Regions from separate parts of the Homo sapiens genome. Here regions 1, 2, 3, 5, 6 and 7 are each linked to region 4. The links are contacts of gene promoters, found by promoter capture Hi-C in human tissues and cell types (Jung and others, 2019). All regions are on one chromosome and are shown on one strand. The core of a region is centred on a gene start or on the middle of the fragment in contact, and the rest is flanking DNA. Distances in the headings are between cores, read along the strand shown.

Region 1 (2,700 bases), core at 19-2,518, 440 kb after region 4:
GATCTACAGGTTACATAATTATATCGTATGAGTGGTGAGTTTTTCTGATTTTGATTACTATACTGTGTTTATTTAAGAGATAGTTCTTGGTACACACACTCTGAAACATTTAGTGGTAAATGAGGCATGATATCTGAAACTTACCTCATATTTTTAAAAAGCAGTATGTGCACGCCTACAGAGAGAAAATAAAGCAAATGTGGAAAATGATGAACAGTTGATGTATATGGGTGAAGAGCATACAATTTTGTACTAATCTCGCAACTTGCCTGTAAGTTTGAAATTATTTCCAAATGAAAAGTTGAAAAAATAAAATATCAGCTATCTGATGGATAACCCACAATATGACTACACACCCACCATGTTGTTTAAAATGAACAAAATCAATGATACCAAACATTGGTGAGAATGTAGATCAACTGGAATTATTTTTCATTGTTGGAGGGAGTGTAAATTTTACAACCACTTGGGAACACTGACAGTGTCTACTAAAGTTAAACAGATCCATAACTTGTGACTCAGTAATTTCATGCTTAAATATATGCCTATAAAAATGTATACATATACAAATTCTCCAAAATATATGCATTAGATATACTATAGCATTGCTATATTTCATAGCCCAAAATCAGAAACAACATACATGTCCACCAAAAGTAGAATGGATAAAAATTGTGACATATTCCCAAAATAGAACACTATACAGCAATTAAAAATGAATTATATCTGCTGACTACAACAGAGAATGAATCTCATGAAAAATATCAGGAAAAGGAAATCAGACAAAAATAGTGCATCGTGTTTGACTCCATTTATATAAAGTTCAAAAATAGGTAAAACTAACCTGCAATTGTTACAAGTCAGGAGAGTGGTTACCCCTTGCGGGGAAGGATTTAGTGGCAGGAAAGAGCTGTGAAAGTGCTCTTAGGAGTTTTGCCAATGCTTTGTTTGTTGATCTGGATGCTGGTGACTCAGATGTGTCAATTTCTGAAAACCCCTTGAGCTTTATACTTATGACACAGGCACTTTTCTGTATGTACGTCATTCTTCAGTAAAATGTTTACATTAATAAAGAGAAAAGGATAATGATAACAACGCCCAATAGCATGAACAGGACACTGTTGTATTTTCCATGGAGTGATTCAGATTGGTCATGAGATGTAGCTGCTATTGCTACACATGGAGAAACTGAGGTTCAAAGACGTTGAACAACTTCCCAAGGGTCACGCAGCCCAGAAGCGGCTAAGTAGAACTCAAATCTAGGCTTTTCAGTTGCCTGCGGAGTCTGTGTTCTTAGGTGCTGTGTTCCACTGTGTCCTAATGAAGAGGCCTTTGGAGTAGAGAAGACCTTCTCCATTCCTTCATCAAAAGGCCTTCTGAATAAACCCGGGATGTTAGAAATTATGCAAATAAGCTTAAAAAAATCAGAGACTCTGCTAATAAAGATGGAGAGAGGAATAAGGTGCCAAACTGCAATGTGATAATGAGGCTGATCTTAATGCCACTTCTCAGTCCTTGTTTGCAAAATTAAGATCTAAGAGGGGGAGGAAAAGAAAACCACCCCAACCATAAAAGGCAGGGTAGATACCCATGAGATAAAATGGTTGAAGAATGATCCAATTAGGAAATGCAATATAGCTCAGTAAGCCTTATTCCTATTATCACAGAAACCAAGCTTTGTAGTATATTCACTGCTGCAGGAGAAAGTGTAAGGAGAAATTAATGGTTTGATTCTAATTTTTTTTTTTTTTTTTTTTTTTACCAGTGGCAGATATGTTTTTGAATTATTAATCTGTGTTTTCTTTGCTGTATGTTTGGTCTTCCATCTCAAAAGAGATCTTAGGGATTTTTGCCATAGCAATTTGCAGAGGATTCACAAGATAAAGACATGAACTGGATTTATCAGACCAAGGAAGGGAAAACTAGCAGGAAGAGGCAGGATTTCCACCCCTAGAAATGGAAAGGGGGTTGCAGTTGGGAAGTGAGTGTCTTGCAAACAGTGGGAACTTTGGCCTTTATGAAGGAGCAGCACCCAAGAAATTTAGATATCAAAGGAGAAGCTATCAAGTACCCCTCTGAAAGCAGGACCCCAGGGTAAGGGGACAGCAACCCCACAAAAGGGTCTTGGGCTCCAATGTTAAAATAGAAGAAGAGGGTCACATGGTTTCAGGTAGTATGCACATCAACAGAAAGTCCTATCTCAAGGATTCAATTCAATAACTACTGTAATAAACAAACTCTAGGGGTAGGGAAGCCTCAGTATTGACCAAAATTGTTTTTATTTTAAGCAACCTAACTGTTTGAGGGTTTGGGGTGAAGTTTACTAGAAATAAGGAAAATAAAGAAAAAATATTTCTTCCAACTCTGAGACTGAGGACTTGGATGCATGTCTCCTACATGCAAAATGGGTGGAAATTAACCCACATGGACTCCGAAAAAGCATTTTGCATTGAGAAAAATTACTTCAATGGAAAGAACATTATCCCCTTTGTTCTTCCCACTGCCTGCTTAATAATTCCTGAAGCTCCAGTCTGCTGTGACAAGCAAGGCTGGATTTGACTACTCATTCCCCTTTTTTGACCTTGGGGTCCCATTGCTCATGAATTCCTGACGTTAAATATTTCTGTCAGGCAGCGCTGTTTCAAGAAGACTTCAAGTTTTAACAAAACTGAATTAAATATTCAACCAAGAGTATCTCCC
Region 2 (2,700 bases), core at 119-2,618, 330 kb after region 4:
GCACCCCTAAAAGGTATGTAGTGTGTAACCTGCACAACTGTATATGCTGACCCTTTCAGGACACACCCACATCAACTTTTTTTTTTTTTTTTTTTTTTTTTTTTTTTTTGAGACAGTCTTCCTCTGTCATCCAGGCTGGACTGCAGTGGCACAGTCTCTGCTCACTGCAACCTCTACCTCCAGAGTTCAAGCAATTCTGCTGCCTCAGCCTCCTGAGTAGCTGGGATTATAGGCGCCCACCACCACACCCAGCTAATTTTTGTATTTTTAGTAGAGATGGGGTTTTGCCATGTTGGCCAGGCTGGTCTTGAACTCCTGGCCTCAAGTGGTCCTCCTGCCTCAGCCTCTCAAAGTGCTGGGATTGCAGGCATGAGCCACCATGCCCGGCCGCCACATCAACTTTTGACGCATCCTTCACAATGACCAATCATGTAATGACCACCTTTTTACACCAAGCATGCCTTTTCTCATGTTGAACATTGCTCTATTATTCCCTGAAGAAAAGGGTGTTGGTTTCATAAGTCATACTCCATTAATCCAGAGTATTCTAAAACAGTCCTAGCCCCATCTAGAAGTGGGGAGGGGATCCAGTTCTGAAGGATTGTCACTGACATTCCCTTAGCTGCCTGCCGGTCAGAGCTGGGTTGAGGGATTCCAGATTCATCTTCCTGACCTCCAGGTTGATTGCACCCTCATTTCCAATCCAGCTTGAGAACAGTGCAGAGCTGGTTCCGTTTCTATTGAGTCTATGGCATTTCTCATGAACGGTCCCTTGTTCCTTCCCGGGACCACATAGGTTATGTGTGTTTCTGCAGGCCACACTCCCAGCACATCTCTCACCTGTGTCTGGGGCAGTGCCAAGCTCCGGGGAGGGCTGACTGCCCCCATCACCCAGAGGGATGATGAGCTTGTCATCACTGGGCCAGGTTTTACTATTCTGCACACATGTTAAGTAATCAGCTTTTAATCCTATTTCAGCAAAAATCAATCACCTCTTCTCTCAATTCTGATAACCTCCTCATCCATTATATTGCAGGGAATTTCTGTATCATTATGAAAGGACACAGGGCAATCAGTAATTGGGTACATCTTCCCACTGCTTGTTGGAGAATGTATGCCTCCCTGGGCTTGTAGGCAATTCAAGCTTAAAATCCAGGTTCATGGGCTTGTCATTTAGTGTCACAGGAAGGTCAGCAGGGGGTGGCGGCTGGAGCCTCATTTACCCACCCATCCATTTAGAAGAGATTGTTTGGGAGTTTGGCTATTTTTAATCAAGACGCCCACCACGATACTGGTGACCAAAGCTCCGTGTGTGTGCTTTCTCTGCCCCTCCCTGGCCCCAGCACACACAAGCACATATACTCCAGGGTCTCTGTTCAGTCCCACCTCCTGCATCTCTGCCTTCCCTCCCTTCTCCCAGACCACTTCAAGAGGACTGGTTTAGAAGAAATCAGAAGGCTGTGCCCATTAACTTGTAACGGGCAGACACAGATTCCCCAACAGCTTCCCTTAGGGAGAGAGAACAGGGAGGAAATATATTTGCCTGGGACTGTCTATTATAGAAATCTTTCTCTCACTCTCTGGCAGTCTCTCAAGTACTCCAGTGATTGATTGTTTCTCCTCTAGTTTTTCTTTTCAGATCCAACATGGCCTCTTTCTCAGATCCCTTAAAGCAGTTGGCCAAGAATCCTGGGATTAGGGAGAAAATATGGCACCTGGTTCAGTACCATGGACAGCAAGCAGCCCCACCCACTCCCTTCCCTATGTTGCCGTCTGGCGATGCAGGAAGCCCTGGGTCTAATGCAACCATCAATCTGGTCTCCCTACCCCAGGGGTGAAATTCCAGCACACCAGTCAGTCAGTCAGACTTGAATCCCTTTGATTTGTCTGTTGGACAGAGCATCCGCCTGCGCTCTGAGTTGGACCACATGGGCAGCTGACCTCAAATGCATGCAGAGAACATAAGAGTCCCTTGACAGTCAGGTAGTTGTGTTATACATTTTTGCATTGCTATGAAGGAAAATCTGAGGCTTGGTAATTTATAAAGAAAAGAGGTTTATTTGGCTTGCAGTTCTGCAAGCTGTACAGGAAGCCGCCCAGCTTCTGATGAGATGCCACATTCTTTTAAACAACCAGTTCTTACATGAACTCAGAGCAAGGGTTCACCATTTCCCACCCCAGTTCATCTGTGGGAGGCTGGGAGAGGTCTCAGGCTGGGTCCCTCTCTCCCCTGCAGTCCTTCTTCCATACGGTCCTGGAGAACAGCCCCCACTGCGACACCATGGTGGACAACAACCTGCGCATCACCAACTGGAATCGCAAGCTGGGCTGCAAGTGCCAGTACAAGCACATCGTGGACTGGTGCGGCTGCTCCCCCAATGACTTCAAGCCGCAGGACTTCCACCGCTTCCAGGTGAGACTTTCTCATGGTCTGCCAGCCTCCTAAGTGATGCCTTCCCAACAAACCTCTGCAGAAATCCAAGGCCAGACCTGCAGGTCATCTTATCACATGGTGCCCAAACCTGGCTGTTGATAATTAATAATAGTTAACAGTATCAACAATAGCCAGTGTTTATTGAGCACTTACTTCAGGGATGTTCTAACCACATTGACTCATTAACCCAAAAACAACAAATGACCTTTCATTATTATTCCATTTTAGGGATATGAAAACTGTGAGGCACAGAAAGGTTAAAAAAA
Region 3 (2,700 bases), core at 120-2,619, 350 kb after region 4:
AAAGTTCATAGCATTAAATGCCCACATCAAAAAGTCTGAAAGAGCCCAAATAGACAATCTAAGGTCACACCTTAATGAGCTAGAGAAACAAGAACAAACCCAAACCCACCAAGGAGAGGTGAAAGACCTCTACAAGGAAAACTGCAAAACACTGCTGCAAGAAGTCATAGATGACACAAGCAAATGTCATGCTCATGGATGGGTAGAATCAATATTGTGACCATGACCATACTGCCAAAAGCAATCTACAAATTCAATGCAATTCCCATCAGAATACCACCATCATTCTTCACAGAACTAGAAAAAGCAATCCTAAAATTCATATGGAACTAAAAAAGAGCCTGCATAGCCAAAACAAGACTAAGCAAAAAGAACAAATCTGGAGGCATTGCATTACCCAACCTTAAAGCATACTATAAGGCCATAGTCACCAGAACAGCATGGTACTGGTATAAAAAAAGGCATATAGAACAGTGGAACAGAATAGAGAACCCAGAAATAAAGCCAAATACTTACTGATCTTCAACACGGCACACAAAAACAAAGTGGGAAAAGAACACCCTATTCAACAAATGGTGCAGAAATAATTGGCAAGCCACGTGTAGAAGAATGGAACCGAATCCTCATCTCTCACCTTATACAATAATCAACTGAGGATGGATCAAAGACTTAAATCTAAGACATGAAACCATACAAATTCTAGAAGATAAAATTGGAAAAACCCTTCTAGACACTGGCTTAGGCAAAGACTTAATGACCAAGAACCCAAAAGCAAATGCAACAAAAACAAAGATAAGTAGATAGGACTTAATTTTAAAAGTTTCTGCAAGGCAAAAGAAATAATCAGCAGAGTAAACAGACAACCCAGAGAGTGGGAGAAAATCTTTGCAATCTGTAGATCCAACAAAGGACTAATATCTAGAATCTACAAGGAACTCAAATCAGCAAGAAAAAACAATCCCATCAAAAAGTGGGCTAAGGCCATGAATAGACCGTTCTCAAAAGAAGATATACAAATGGCCAACGAACATATGAAAAAATGCTCAACATCACTAACGATCAGGAAAATGCAAATCAAAACCACAATGCAATACCACCTTACTCCTGCAAGAATGGCCATAACCAAAAAATAACAGATGTTGGCATGGATGTGGTGAAAAGGGAACGCTTTTATGCTGTTGGTGGGACTGTAAACTAGGACAACCACTATGGAAAACAATGTGGAGATTCCTTAAAGAACTACAAGTAGTTCTACCATTTGATCCAGCAATTCCACTGTGGGCTATCTACCAGAGAAAAGTAAGTCATTATACAAAAAAGATTCTTGCACACGCATGTTTATAGCAGCACAATTCACAATTGCAAAAAAAATGGAAGCAGCCCATCAATCAGTGAATAAATTGTGTGTGTGTGTGTGTGCGCATATATATATATATACCCCATGGAATACTACTCAGCCATAAAAAGGAACGAAACAATGGTATTTGCAGCAACCTGGATGGAATTGGAGACCATTATTCTAAATGAAGTAATTCAGGAATGGAAAAGCAAACGTTGTATGTTCTCACTCATAAGAGGGAGCTAAGCTATGAGGAAATCAAGGCTTAAGAATGATACAGTGAGTTTGGGGACTCATGGGCAAGGGTTGGGGGATATAGGGGAGGGGATATAGGGGATAAAAGACTACACATGGGGTGCAGTGTATACTGTTCAAGTGATGGGTGCACCAAAATCTCAGAAGTCACCACTAAAGAACTTATTCATGTAAGCAAACACCACCTGTTCCCCAAAAACCTATTGAAATATATACATATACATACACATTATAAACTCAAAAAATAAATAAATAAACGCAATGGAAAGCCATTGGTTGGTTGGAAGCCAGGGAGCAGTATGTTAAGCTTGAATTTGAATATGTATTTGAATTTGGGTAATTGACCATTCTGCAGTGGATGGTGGTGGACTTCCACAATGAGGCCCCTTGAGAAGGTCTTGGAGGATGTGACAGCAGCAGGGCCCTAGCTCAGGCTGCCCCACACCTCACCCTTCACGCTCCTCGGTTGAAAAACAAGATCCAGGTTGTTTGTCAGCTGCTCCAGAACTCTCCTGCCCAGGTTATCTTGGTTTTAAAACTCGATTTCAGGGAAGTGTTTATCCTCATTTCTTTGGAGGATCCAAGGGCAGTGTTCTGGAGGGTTCCCATCTTCCCCTAACTGGTGAAAAATCACCTCCTTAAATATGACCCTAAAGTAGTTTTGTGGCCATTCATCTGTTTTGTTAGTATCTGTTGGAAACTAGTGCATGGAGGGAAGTCCATGTGTTCAGCCCCTACTCATTCAATATGTGTTCAAGATAGATTGATAGACAGGTGATACATAGATTGATTAACAGACAGACAGATGGGTGGATACGTTAATAGGCAAACAGATGGATAGATGATTAATGGTTACAATAGAGTTGACAGATTAATGTGACAGATTGGTAGAGATAGATGATAAACACACATAAGTAGATGATCAATCTGTATAGATCATTGATCGATCAATAGACAATAGGTGCTCAATATATCTTTATTTTTAGATCTCTATAGAGATATATTGAGCACCTACTCTATGTTCAGCACTGTTTCAGACACTAGAGACATATTGGTGAGCATGCCATATATAGTCCCTGCCCTCTTGGAGTTGACGGTCTAGATCT
Region 4 (2,700 bases), core at 187-2,686:
CCTGTCTTGGCCTCCCAAAGTGCTGCGATTACAGGCATGAGCCACCGCGCCCAGGCCTATCTCACTATATTTTAATGATTAACATCCACATCAGGCTTCTCTAGACCTCAGGCTTGCTGAAGATGAGATTAAACCTCATTCACCTTTGGATGCGTGCACCTGGCCCAGTGTCTGACACAAGCTTTGTATTCACGGATGCTTGTGGAGTGGATGAAACAATCTCTTCCCACTCCCTGCCTCATTGTCTGATGAGCCTTCATTACACTCCACTTTCTTCTCTTTGTAAATTAGGATGAGGTGAAAAAGCACAGCAGACAAGATGCGAAGCATTCACGCCAAGTCCTCAATTCACAAACTGATTTGATCTGCTGTTGTATTCCCAGAGTGCTAGGTCCCGTATGGGACACCAACGCCATCCCATATGCTCACTGTTCTGCGCTGCTGTGTATAAAGCCCTGGGCAAGAGGACAAGGGAGGGAAAAACCAGAAAGACTGAGTCAGAGAAGGCTCGGGATGAAATTTGAGTCCATTGGGATCATTCTGCCTAAACGACAGAGGAGAAAGCTTGGGCTCAGGGAGGAGTCCTCCTCCTCCTGGCTCAAGGTCACCGGGACAGACCAGTCAGGATGGGAAAGAACTCCACTTTCAAGAGCAAGACCTGTTTCCCCAGGACCTGGGCCCTGTGCAGACAGGAAGGGGGACTTCAGGATGGATGGGGAAAAGGACACGCTGGGAGGCTGCGGGGCCAGCCTTTGGGGCTTGCATCCTGCGAAGGTTGAGTAACTCCACGGGTCTCCCTTTTGCCGCTATACCACTTGCCAACTGGGTTTGGAGTCTCTTGGCTTGTGAGTCCTCAGGGACCAGAGAAGTGACTCAGTGAACACTTAGTACATCGTTGGCACCGGGGATTGTGTGTGATTCAGGAGTCACTCACAGAGCTTGTGCTGATTAACTCCAGAAACTCACCCAAAGCCTCCTCCCCACCCCTTCAAGCCCAGGATGAAGGGATCAGACTGTGGCTCTGACACTCCTGAAATGTTTCTCACGTGTCCACCTGCCAACCGGTCTGGTACCGACAGAAGATCCCTGGACCGCGAACTCCGGGGCTAGGAGCTTCCTCCACGCACTGCCTCCTTCCAGCGGCCCACAGGGAAAACAGGACCTCGGGACCCCCTCTCTTCCTGACCTCCCCTGGATTCTGAGCGGGCCCACCCTCAACCAAAGGTCCCCTGTTTCGCGGCCCCTGCCTCTCTTTTTCCGCCTTGGGAATTGTCCCCCTCGCCCCCCATCCTACTCCCACTACGTCCTGAGGGGTGTCTGTCTTCTCTGATCGCCCCCACCCCCTTCCTTTCCCTCCTCCTTTTCCTCCCTCGGCTCCTCCCCCAGGCCCCGCCCTCTCCGCCTCGGCCCGCGTCCCCCCGGCGCCTTCCCCATCACCCTCCCCTCCAGCGGGGACAGGGGTGTGGGGAGGGGGGCGGCGGCGGCGGCCCGAGCGGGAGCCCGAGCGGCAGCCGGCGGCCGCGGGAGCTGCGGGGAGCGCGGGGGCGGCCCGGAGCGTGCCGGGGTCCCCGCGCCTCGCTCGCCGGCCGCGCTCCGAAGATGGTGGCGGCGCCGTGCGCCCGGAGGCTGGCCCGGCGCTCGCACTCGGCGCTGCTCGCGGCGCTCACGGTGCTGCTGCTGCAGACGCTGGTCGTGTGGAATTTCAGCAGCCTCGACTCCGGGGCCGGGGAGCGCCGCGGGGGCGCAGCGGTCGGCGGCGGGGAGCAGCCGCCCCCGGCCCCGGCCCCGCGCCGGGAGCGCCGGGACCTGCCCGCCGAGCCGGCTGCAGCCCGAGGAGGAGGAGGAGGCGGCGGCGGAGGAGGAGGAGGACGGGGGCCCCAGGCGCGGGCGCGGGGAGGCGGCCCCGGAGAACCGCGGGGACAGCAGCCGGCCAGCCGGGGGGCACTGCCCGCCCGGGCTCTGGTAAGATGCCCTTTCGGCTCGCGCCCCGCGGCGAGGGAGGGAGGAAGGCAGCCCGACCCCACGCCCCCCTAGCCCTTGAACTCGGTCATCAGACTGGGACTCTGCAAGCCTACCGACTCCACATCGCCTCTTGCCCCGGGAAGCCGGGTGGGGTCCCTGCCAAGGCTCAGGGGTCGTGGGCTGCCCCTTTCAGAGTCTGAGCACGGACCCCTTGGGGTCTGGGGGAAGTTTTCTCCAGCGGGGGCGCTTTGGGGGTTACCGGAGCCTGGCTGGGTTCCTGTTCCCCATCACTCTTGCTGGGGACCCCAGGTGACTTGCTCCGTGCGTGTAGGTCTTGGTGACTCGCTCCCTGCCTGAGTGAGTGGATCTCCCCGGATCCTCAGCCGCTGTTCCTGGGCGGTTGTCGCAGCAGCATCTCTCTGGTTTTTGCCGAGCTGGGTGCAGACAGTTGAGCCCTCTGTTCGTCCTGGCCTGCGATGAGGGCTGAGCTGGGCGTCCCAAGTCCCCGACCATGCCCCTGAATCAATACTCAGTCCGGGGTGTCTGGTCTTACTTTGGGTCTTCTGTTTCTCTTCTCTGGATGTTTGAGCCTTCCGTCTTCACCTTCTCTGTCTCTAACCTTGCCGTCTCCCATGCCCTCTGTGACTTTATCTCCTCCCCATCTCCAGTTTCAGGGCATGGCTCCTTCTCCTAGCTGGTTGTCTCTGTCTTTCTGTCTTGTTGCGGCCGGTTCAGGTC
Region 5 (2,700 bases), core at 171-2,670, 310 kb before region 4:
ATACTAAAATTTATCCTGTTCCCTGCTTCATAGTATTCCATTGTATGCACATGTTTCTCCAGTAGAATTACTGGTGTTTACAGTTTCATCTTTATTTGGTAATACATTGGGTTTTAAGCTCATTTTAATATATATTGTAAATCTGCCTTCCAGATTACTTGATTCGTAATCATCTCTCTTACCATTAGAAATTATTTTTATTCTAATATATAATTTTTTCTTTCATAACTTTTTCATTGCCTCAATATTTAGAAAGTTATTGGTCACCCTTAAATCATAACATTTTCCTCATATTTTTCTGTTTTGCTGTTCTTTTCCTTTCTGTCTTTGAATATTGGTGTGTATGTTTAACCCTTTGCACAACTTGGGATTGATTTTGCTTTACAGCAAGAAGCGAAAATGTTTGTTTTTGCTCAGTTACCAGCTCACTGCCTTCTGTAGCATTATCAAATAAATCCTCTTTGCCAAACATGGTCTGTCAAATCTCAGCCCTATGCCTGTCCTTATGTCTATTCCACTCTACACCACAGCGGGGAACCTGAAAACTATATTTCCAGAGTTCCTTGGCGGCTGGGTATGGGTCGATGGTGACCAGTGGGGTCGATCACATGAGATTCACAAATGGGAAAAGTGTAGAAACTGTTTTTCTGCTTCTGGCGACAGCATCAGCAGTATTGTAAACTCTTGACTTCTTGATAATACCTCTTTTCATCATCCAGCTCTAGAGAATGTACTGGCTTCCTACAGGTGTTAATCCCTGGGCAATCTCTACTTTGCTCCTCTTATTTTTCTACACATTTGTAATCAATTCCCTGTATTAAAGTCCCTACTGTTTGAAATACCTAGAGTGATTTATGTTTTCCCAAGGGTACATTAATTGATCTGATGGATGAATCTTCCTCTTCCTATTGATTTACAGTGCTGAACTTATTGTGTACATGTGTGTGCCCATGTATGTGCGTGCAGGTGTAGAAGAAAGAAGGGATAGAAAGAAAGAATGTGTACTATTTGTTTTGGAGCTATATATGTTAGTTCATTGATCCTTTTGCCAATTCTTGCCCATACATATTTATCATTACAATTATTGTACCTAAAGTGTGCATTTCGGTATCTGACAGTACAAATCTGCCCTCATCCTTCTTTTCTCATATGGTCTTCACTATCCTCATCTACTTATCAAGCTGTGTTTTTAAGAAGAAAAGTCTTAAGACCAAGCATGGTGGCTCACACCTGTAATCCCAGCACTTTGGGAGGCTGAGGCGGGCAGATCACTTGAGGTAAGGAGTTAGAGACCAGCCTGGCCAACATGGTGAAACCCCATCTCTACTAAAAATACAAAAATTAGCCAGGCTTGGTGGTGTGCACCTGTAATCCCAGCTACTCAGGAGGCTGAGGCAGGAGAATTGCTTGAACCCAGGAGGCAAAGGTTGCAGTGAGCCGAGATCACACCATTGCACTCCAGCCTGGGCAACAAGAGCGAAACTCCGTCTTAAAAAATTAAAAAAAAAAAGAAAAAGAAAAAGAAAAAAGTCTTTGAAGGAGAACTGATTGTGCTCTAGTATAACCTTTTTCTCTGCATCTCGCTGAAGCTGAGGGTATTGCATAAGAGAAGCTGACATTGCTTCACAGTGGAGACTCACAGAAACAGTCACACGCCATGTCTCCCCATCATGTGGGCACAGTGGGTGGTTGTGTCTGGGTGCACAGGTGATAAATGATTGCCATTCAGAATGTCTCTTCCTTACCACTTTGGGATCACCCTGTTTGGAGAAGAGGCTGCAGAATTGTCCTCCCTAACAATGAAAGGGGATCTTGCTTCCTGTGAGTCATCCTAACAATGCCCAAGGTCAGAAGAGAAATTTCCTGCAAGACCTTGCAATTTCTCAGTAATCCTATTTGGGCTCATTGGATGAAATGGCTGTGGGAAAATGATCTGATCATTATTGTAAACATCAGGGCAATCATGTCAGGAGATGCCTCTGAAACACACACCATCTCTGCTTCGGTAACTACTGAAAGGGAGGGGATTGGGGAAGGTGCTCATAGTTCTCTCTTTTTTTTTTTTGTCAGAGAAGACTTTCATGATATTCTGAAAACACCCCTAAGATCTCCCCTCTGGGCTCTCCTCGTGCTTTTCTGTGAAGCCTGGTTTGGTTGAAGACAAAGACTGCCCCCACTTTGGAAGTCCCAACCCTGGGGAAGCCTCTGGCAGTTTCCCCCGGTGCGGTTGGCTTTGTGTATAAGACCGCTTTGGAACTTGAAAGCACTCATCGTGACCCTCAGGGCTCGGTGCCCCGGGAGTCAGGCCCACTGAGAGTGAGTAGCAGTGAAGCTATTTCAGAGGGAACACAGGGACTGTGCCAGGCTGTCCTGGCAGGGAAAGCTGAGTAAAGGGCAGCATGACTTTGTGCAGAATTGGAGCAGAGTGGAAACAGCCCCCCACCTCCCACCACCGTAAGCTTTAGAGTCATACTGCGTGGGCTTGAATTCTGGCCGCTCTGCCTCCAGTTGGCAGGTGCTTTCTGTGCCTCAATTCCCTCCTCTGTACAATGTTAGAAATAACAATGACTGTGTTAAAGGCTAGACACAATTAAATGAGGCAATCCATTTAAAAACTAAAAATAGTGCCTGCATGTAATAAACACACCATCCCCATTCCTCACCCGACTCCTGACATTAATTCATTAGGTTAATTGCCTA
Region 6 (2,700 bases), core at 122-2,621, 350 kb before region 4:
TAACCTTCTGAGATTCTTTTTTCATCAATAAAATAAGGCAGATAACTGTACCTACTTGATATGATTGTTGGGAGAACTAAATGAAATAATGTGTGCAAAGCTTTTAATATGTCATAAATAAATGGCACTTGCTGTTGTTTACAATTAGGGTTATCATTATTTTTTATTTGTTTTTTTTTCTTGAACTTTCTCAAATTCACCCAATGGTGGGTTGGATGATCTTACATACATAAACTTCAGAATTGGTCTTTAGTTTAAACTCAGTTCTAGCATGTACCAGCATGTGCCCTTAAGGGCTCATTTTATTTATTTATTTATTTATTTATTTATTTATTTATTTATTTTGAGACAGAGTCTCACTCTGTCACCCAGGCTGGAAGGCGTAATCTAGGCTCACTGCAATCTATGCCTCCCGAGTTCAAGCGATTCTCCCTGCCTCAGCCTCAGCCTCCCGAGTAGCTGGGATTACAGGTGTGTGCCACCACACCCTGCTAATTTTTGTATTTTTAGTAGAGACAGGGTTTCACCATATTGGCCAGGCTGGTCTTGAACTCCTGACCTCAGGTGATCCATCTGCCTCAGCCTCCCAAAGTCCTGGGATTATAGGCAGGAGCCCCTGTGCCCAGCTAAGAGTTTATTTCTTAAGCTTCTATGTTCTCTCTGAAGCTCAGTTGACTTCTACCCAAAGTACACAGAATGAAGAGTATGTTGCTGTGAGGTTGTGAGGAAGGAATAAGATAATACTCAGTAAAAGGTGGAAAGATACTTCATTTAATGAAATACATTGAAGTAGGGGTAAACTTACTTGCATGCTGGGCAAGTACATCTACTCCCATGAAGTTGATCATATTTGCAAGGGTGTAGGTTGTGGGTGTTTATGTATCTGAATATTTGTTAAAATGTTCAGTTCTGATGAGCTGAATACTTCTTGAAATCTAGGCTTGGCACATTTGCAGAGGGATGTGTGTCTTGGTCACAGGTAATTAGGACAACCTAGTGGGGGTCTTTGATGGGGCAGGACAATGCACTCTGGATCTGGTCTTGGACTGGAGAATTAGATTATTAGGATTAGGAAGACTTTCCAGAGCAAGAGATATCAACACTTAAGATACCTCATATCCTTTTCCCATAGAGTGTGCACAGCCCTAAGTAATCACAGGGCCTCCATTGCTAATACGGATTTTCCTGGGGACAGAGCAAATTATAATTTGGTTTTCAGGATACTCTTTCTCAGAATCATACATCATCTCTGGATAACTGTCGGTCTCTCAAGAACAAGATCAGGAAAGAGAGAAGACTTGTCTAAATCTGGGGCTTAGCCGAGGAAGAATGGCTGAATAATAAGATGGAGTAAATATTCCGAATGAAATATTCATGGTTGCAGAAAATAGGATCTGTCTAATAAAATGATCGCGCTAGGTTTCAGAGCCCCCTATGCCTCTCTGCAAATTATCCCCCAATCACATCTCTCCTGTGAGCATTAAAATATATAATTAATGCTCATTGTTAATAATACATTTCTAATTTCCAGTTGCAAAGATACAGCTTTTCCCTCCATTGGAGGATCACCTATATTTTGTCATTAACATTTTGTCATAAGAGGCAAGAATGATTTAAATGAACAATAAATCGACAGGCAAGCTGCTGATTTGGGCTTAAGCCAAACTCTTTGGGGAAGGGGTTCATTTATCACCTGGGACTTAGTGTAGTTCTTCTGCTGATTTATGTGGAAAGGAATGAGAGAGAGTTCTGTGGAAGGGTCTTGCGGCCCTGGGGGATTAGTAACAATAAATAGAGTAACTGGAGCAGCAGCTGTCACAGTCAGAGTAACTCCAGCTGAGAGAAGGATGGAATTTCTGGTTATTGGACCAGTTCTGGAGAACACCTGGCCCAAGTGTTCTGAATATCCAGCTGCCTATTGTACATCTCCATTTGGGTATTCCACTAACACAGGATACTCAACTCCCACCAAACTCTCTTCTCAAATGTGTTTTTCTTCCAGGGTATCTTTTCTTATCTACCTGTTTTGTCAAGTCAGGAACTTGGGGGTCACCCAGTGACACCTCCTGCATCTTGCCTTCTACATCCAAATAATCACAATTCTTTTCAAAGCATTCCCTCTTCCATTAGCTCACCAGGTCCCCACAAAAGCTTTGAGATGCAGGAGAAGCAGAATTTTTATTTCCTTTTTTCAATGGAAGAAACTAAGGGACTCACCCATAACCATACTGATAATGAATGACTTTCAGTATTTTTATATCAATGGTCCAGTGTTTTCCCCAGTATACCATCTTGAATGAGAAATTTGTTTTCTTCTTTATCTCTGACTTCTCTTACTTTGTGCCCAATAAATCTTTCTGGGACCTCGTGGTTACTCTGTCTTCCCAGGTCCCCACAAAAGCCTTGAGATGCAGGTGAAGCAAGATTTTTATTTCCTTTTTGGAATGGAAGAAACTCAGGAACTCACCCATAACCACACCGATAATGAGTGACTGTCAGTATTTAGGTGTCAGATATGTTTAACCCATTTATGCCAGAGATTGCAATTTTTTTGAATTGCAGACGTGTGAGAAATCAGACCTCAGCGATGACCTTGAGCAGTAGGATATAAATAACTCCCACATGCTTAGCGTTCCAGTAATGGAACACTAGACATACATGGGTTTTAATCAATGGTCCAGTGTAAGGAATTCCATTGTA
Region 7 (2,700 bases), core at 112-2,611, 410 kb after region 4:
TCCAGCCTGGGTGACAGAGTAAGACTCCGATTAAAAAAAAAAAGACATTTTGAGAAAGAAAGATGAAGATACTGCTGGGTCCCTCAACCTGAAGTTGGAAACCCCAAATGGTATGACAGAAAGCTGGAATCCAAAAAGAAACTCCTTGCAACATTCCCCAAGCTGGTATGGAATGGCACTGGTCAGACAGCCATGGCTGAGGGACCTCACTGAGTCCCACCTGCTACAGCCTGGTACAGAAAGCCAGGGCTGTCACATACAGCCACATAGGATATGTCCTGCACAACCCTGGACTCCACCACAAAGACCAAAGGCCAGCAAACTTTTTCTGCAAAGGGCCAGACAGTAAATATTTCAGCCTTGCGGGCTATATAACCTTTGTCACCACGATCAACTCTGCCACTGTACTGCAAAAGCAGCCATAGACAATATGTAACTGAGTGGGTGTAGTTCTGTTCCAATAAAACTTTATTTACAAAGTCATGTGACAAGCAACCTTTGGGCCAATGTTTGCCAACCCCAAACATACATTAGGATGTTATGGTGTCTCCCCAACATAGCCATCCTGCAGAAAAACCTAACAAGATTCCCTGCCTCCTTCCTTTTAGAGGGGCTCAGAATTTCTGAGAGAATTGATAGAGCAGAAGAGGCCTGGCTTAGGGTGAGGAGATCACAGAATGAGGTAACCTTAGGACCAGAGCCAATGGCAGAGATCTATAATGTCAGCAGGGGCGATCAGTAACATGCTCAAAAAATATCAGGAAGGAGCAGTTTCTCTGCAGTGGACACCAGTGCAGGGCACTCAGGGTCAAATTGAGACTCAGAATTCTGCAGCAGAGGCCAGAAAGGACGATGTCCAGCACACGGACAGAAACAAACTGTTTTACGAGCTCAGATGTCACCTTCAAGAGACAAAGGAGAAAGAGACCTAGAGAAAGGAAATAATCCTGTGAAAGAATTTGAATGTTTGATTCTTTGCCAAGAATAAATTTACAATGGAAAAAATTATGTAAAACCAGTTTCTCTTGTATATCTGTCCCAGGCAGCAGCAGGAATGGAAACTTAGGGCAAGACAAGATATGTGATGGAAAATTAAAGAAGTCACACAGACCCCTGTTCATCTGATGTCTAGTGAGGATATTCCAAATCTCCTGCATGTGGGGGCTAGTCTAGGGCTTCAAGGGATCCCAGTGCAGTGTATTCCTGCCAGGAAAGGCTAGAACTCTGGCCTTTTTGTGCAAGGCCAATGCTTTTTTATAAGAAGTTTTTATTGTGGTAAAAATATCCTACAAGCTGTACCATATCCTACAAGCTGTAGGATAGAGATGATATCGAAGAAGGATATAGGTCCTCCCCTCTTTTCCCTGTAGGAGGCCGCAGGGGAAAACCACAAGGGAGAGGGAAAAACACATAAAATATAGTTTACCAGCATAACCATTGAAGTATTAAATACCTTAATTTAATTAACCATTGTACAGTTCAGAAGTATTAAATACCTTAATAGGCTGGCCGCGGTGGCTCAGGCCTGTAATCCCAGAACTTTGGGAGGTCAAGGCTTGAGCCCAGGAATTCAAGACCAGCCTAGTCAACATGGCGAAACCCCGTCACTACTAAAAATATAAAAATTATCCAGGCGTGGTGGTGCATGCCTGTAATCCCAGCTACATGGGGGGGCTGAGGTGGGAGGATCGCTGGAGCCTGAGAGGTTGAGGCTGCAGTGAGCCGAGACTGTACCACTGCACTCCAGCCTGGGAGACAGAGCAAGGCCCTGTCTTAAAAAAAAAAAAAAAAAAAAAAAGAAAGCATTAATTTAATAATATGCAGCCATCATACCATCCATCTCACTAACTCTTTTCATCTTGTAAAACTAAGAAAAACTCTACACCTGTTAAAAAGTAACTCCCCATTTCCCCTTCCCCAAGCCCCTGGAAACCATCATTCTGCTTTCTATCTGTATGCATGTAACTGTTCTAAGTACTTCATGTATGTGAACTCATACAGCATTTGTTCTCTGATGACTGGCCTATTTCCCTTAGCATAATGTCCTCAGGGTTTATTCATGTTGCAGCGTTGTGTGAGAAGTTCCTTCCTGGCTGGGCATGGTGGCTCATGCCTGTAATCCCAGCACTTTGGGAGGTTGAGCCAAGAGGATTGCTTGAACCCAGGAGTTCAAGACCAGCCTGAGCAACATAGTGACACCTCATCTCTACAAACAAACAAACAAACAAACTTTTTGTTTTAAAGTTACCCAGGCATGCACCCATAGTCACAGCTACTTGGGAGGCTGAGGAGGGAGGATTGGTTGACCTTGGGAGCTGAAAGCTGCAGAAAGCTATGATCGTACCACTGCGCTCCAGCCTAGGTGACAGAGTGAGACTCTGTCTTCAAAAAATAAGAAAGAAAGAAAAAGAAGTTCCTTCTTTTTAAAGGCAGACTAATATTCCCTTGTATGTGTATACTACATTTTGTTTATCTGTTCATCCATCCAGGGACACTTAGGTTGCTTCCAAGCTTTAGCTCTTGTAAATAAGGCTGCTGCTTTTCAGAGCAGCAGGCATCACTACACTGGAGAAGGCCAAAGTTGTCATGTTTGGCATCATGACGGTCTTTACTACATGTACTGGCCTGGAATGTTCTATTTTGCGTTTTTATTTTTCCATAGCAAGCCCTGGAGTGGCACTCGGTCTAACTGGAGAGAGA

The links. Contacts are between HindIII fragments. The study calls those that stand out against the background at their distance.
Region 1: a contact is called between a fragment that was not itself captured here and the fragment with the promoter of XYLT1 in region 4, in 1 of the 25 tissues and cell types used here (lymphoblastoid cells).
Region 2: a fragment that was not itself captured here is called in contact with the fragment with the promoter of XYLT1 in region 4 in 1 of the 25 tissues and cell types used here (spleen).
Region 3: a contact is called between a fragment that was not itself captured here and the fragment with the promoter of XYLT1 in region 4, in 2 of the 25 tissues and cell types used here (H1 embryonic stem cells and dorsolateral prefrontal cortex).
Region 5: a contact is called between a fragment that was not itself captured here and the fragment with the promoter of XYLT1 in region 4, in 1 of the 25 tissues and cell types used here (dorsolateral prefrontal cortex).
Region 6: a contact is called between a fragment that was not itself captured here and the fragment with the promoter of XYLT1 in region 4, in 2 of the 25 tissues and cell types used here (dorsolateral prefrontal cortex and mesendoderm cells).
Region 7: a contact is called between a fragment that was not itself captured here and the fragment with the promoter of XYLT1 in region 4, in 1 of the 25 tissues and cell types used here (lymphoblastoid cells).

The regions. Positions count from the first base shown.
Region 1 is chr16:17,030,873-17,033,572 of GRCh38, reverse strand. No RefSeq gene overlaps it. Among named protein-coding and RNA genes, the nearest start is that of XYLT1, 440 kb to the left of the region's middle. The HindIII fragment of the contact is 3,439 bases long and covers 1-2,700 here.
Region 2 is chr16:17,138,068-17,140,767 of GRCh38, reverse strand. It overlaps XYLT1 (xylosyltransferase 1), which reads left to right. Exons shown (of 12, transcript NM_022166.4): 8 at 2,237-2,413. It overlaps LOC102723692 (a long non-coding RNA gene), which reads right to left. Exons shown (of 3, transcript NR_135179.1): 3 at 2,036-2,526. Among named protein-coding and RNA genes, the nearest start is that of XYLT1, 330 kb to the left of the region's middle. The HindIII fragment of the contact is 4,981 bases long and covers 1-2,700 here.
Region 3 is chr16:17,120,700-17,123,399 of GRCh38, reverse strand. The region is part of intron 10 of XYLT1 (xylosyltransferase 1); the gene reads left to right. Among named protein-coding and RNA genes, the nearest start is that of XYLT1, 350 kb to the left of the region's middle. The HindIII fragment of the contact is 4,420 bases long and covers 1-2,700 here.
Region 4 is chr16:17,469,696-17,472,395 of GRCh38, reverse strand. XYLT1 (xylosyltransferase 1) reads left to right here and starts at 1,436. Exons shown (of 12, transcript NM_022166.4): 1 at 1,436-1,962. The coding sequence starts at 1,600. It overlaps LOC107987234 (a long non-coding RNA gene), which reads left to right and starts at 1,969. Exons shown (of 2, transcript XR_001752091.2): 1 at 1,969-2,700. LOC105371106 (a long non-coding RNA gene) reads left to right here. Exons shown (of 3, transcript XR_933144.3): 3 at 292-1,389. RefSeq lists enhancers at 941-1,442, 2,217-2,266, 2,387-2,656. The HindIII fragment of the contact is 9,248 bases long and covers 374-2,700 here.
Region 5 is chr16:17,776,716-17,779,415 of GRCh38, reverse strand. No RefSeq gene overlaps it. Among named protein-coding and RNA genes, the nearest start is that of XYLT1, 310 kb to the right of the region's middle. RefSeq lists an enhancer at 2,275-2,700. The HindIII fragment of the contact is 3,762 bases long and covers 1-2,700 here.
Region 6 is chr16:17,822,696-17,825,395 of GRCh38, reverse strand. No RefSeq gene overlaps it. Among named protein-coding and RNA genes, the nearest start is that of XYLT1, 350 kb to the right of the region's middle. The HindIII fragment of the contact is 3,598 bases long and covers 1-2,700 here.
Region 7 is chr16:17,059,298-17,061,997 of GRCh38, reverse strand. No RefSeq gene overlaps it. Among named protein-coding and RNA genes, the nearest start is that of XYLT1, 410 kb to the left of the region's middle. The HindIII fragment of the contact is 3,096 bases long and covers 1-2,700 here.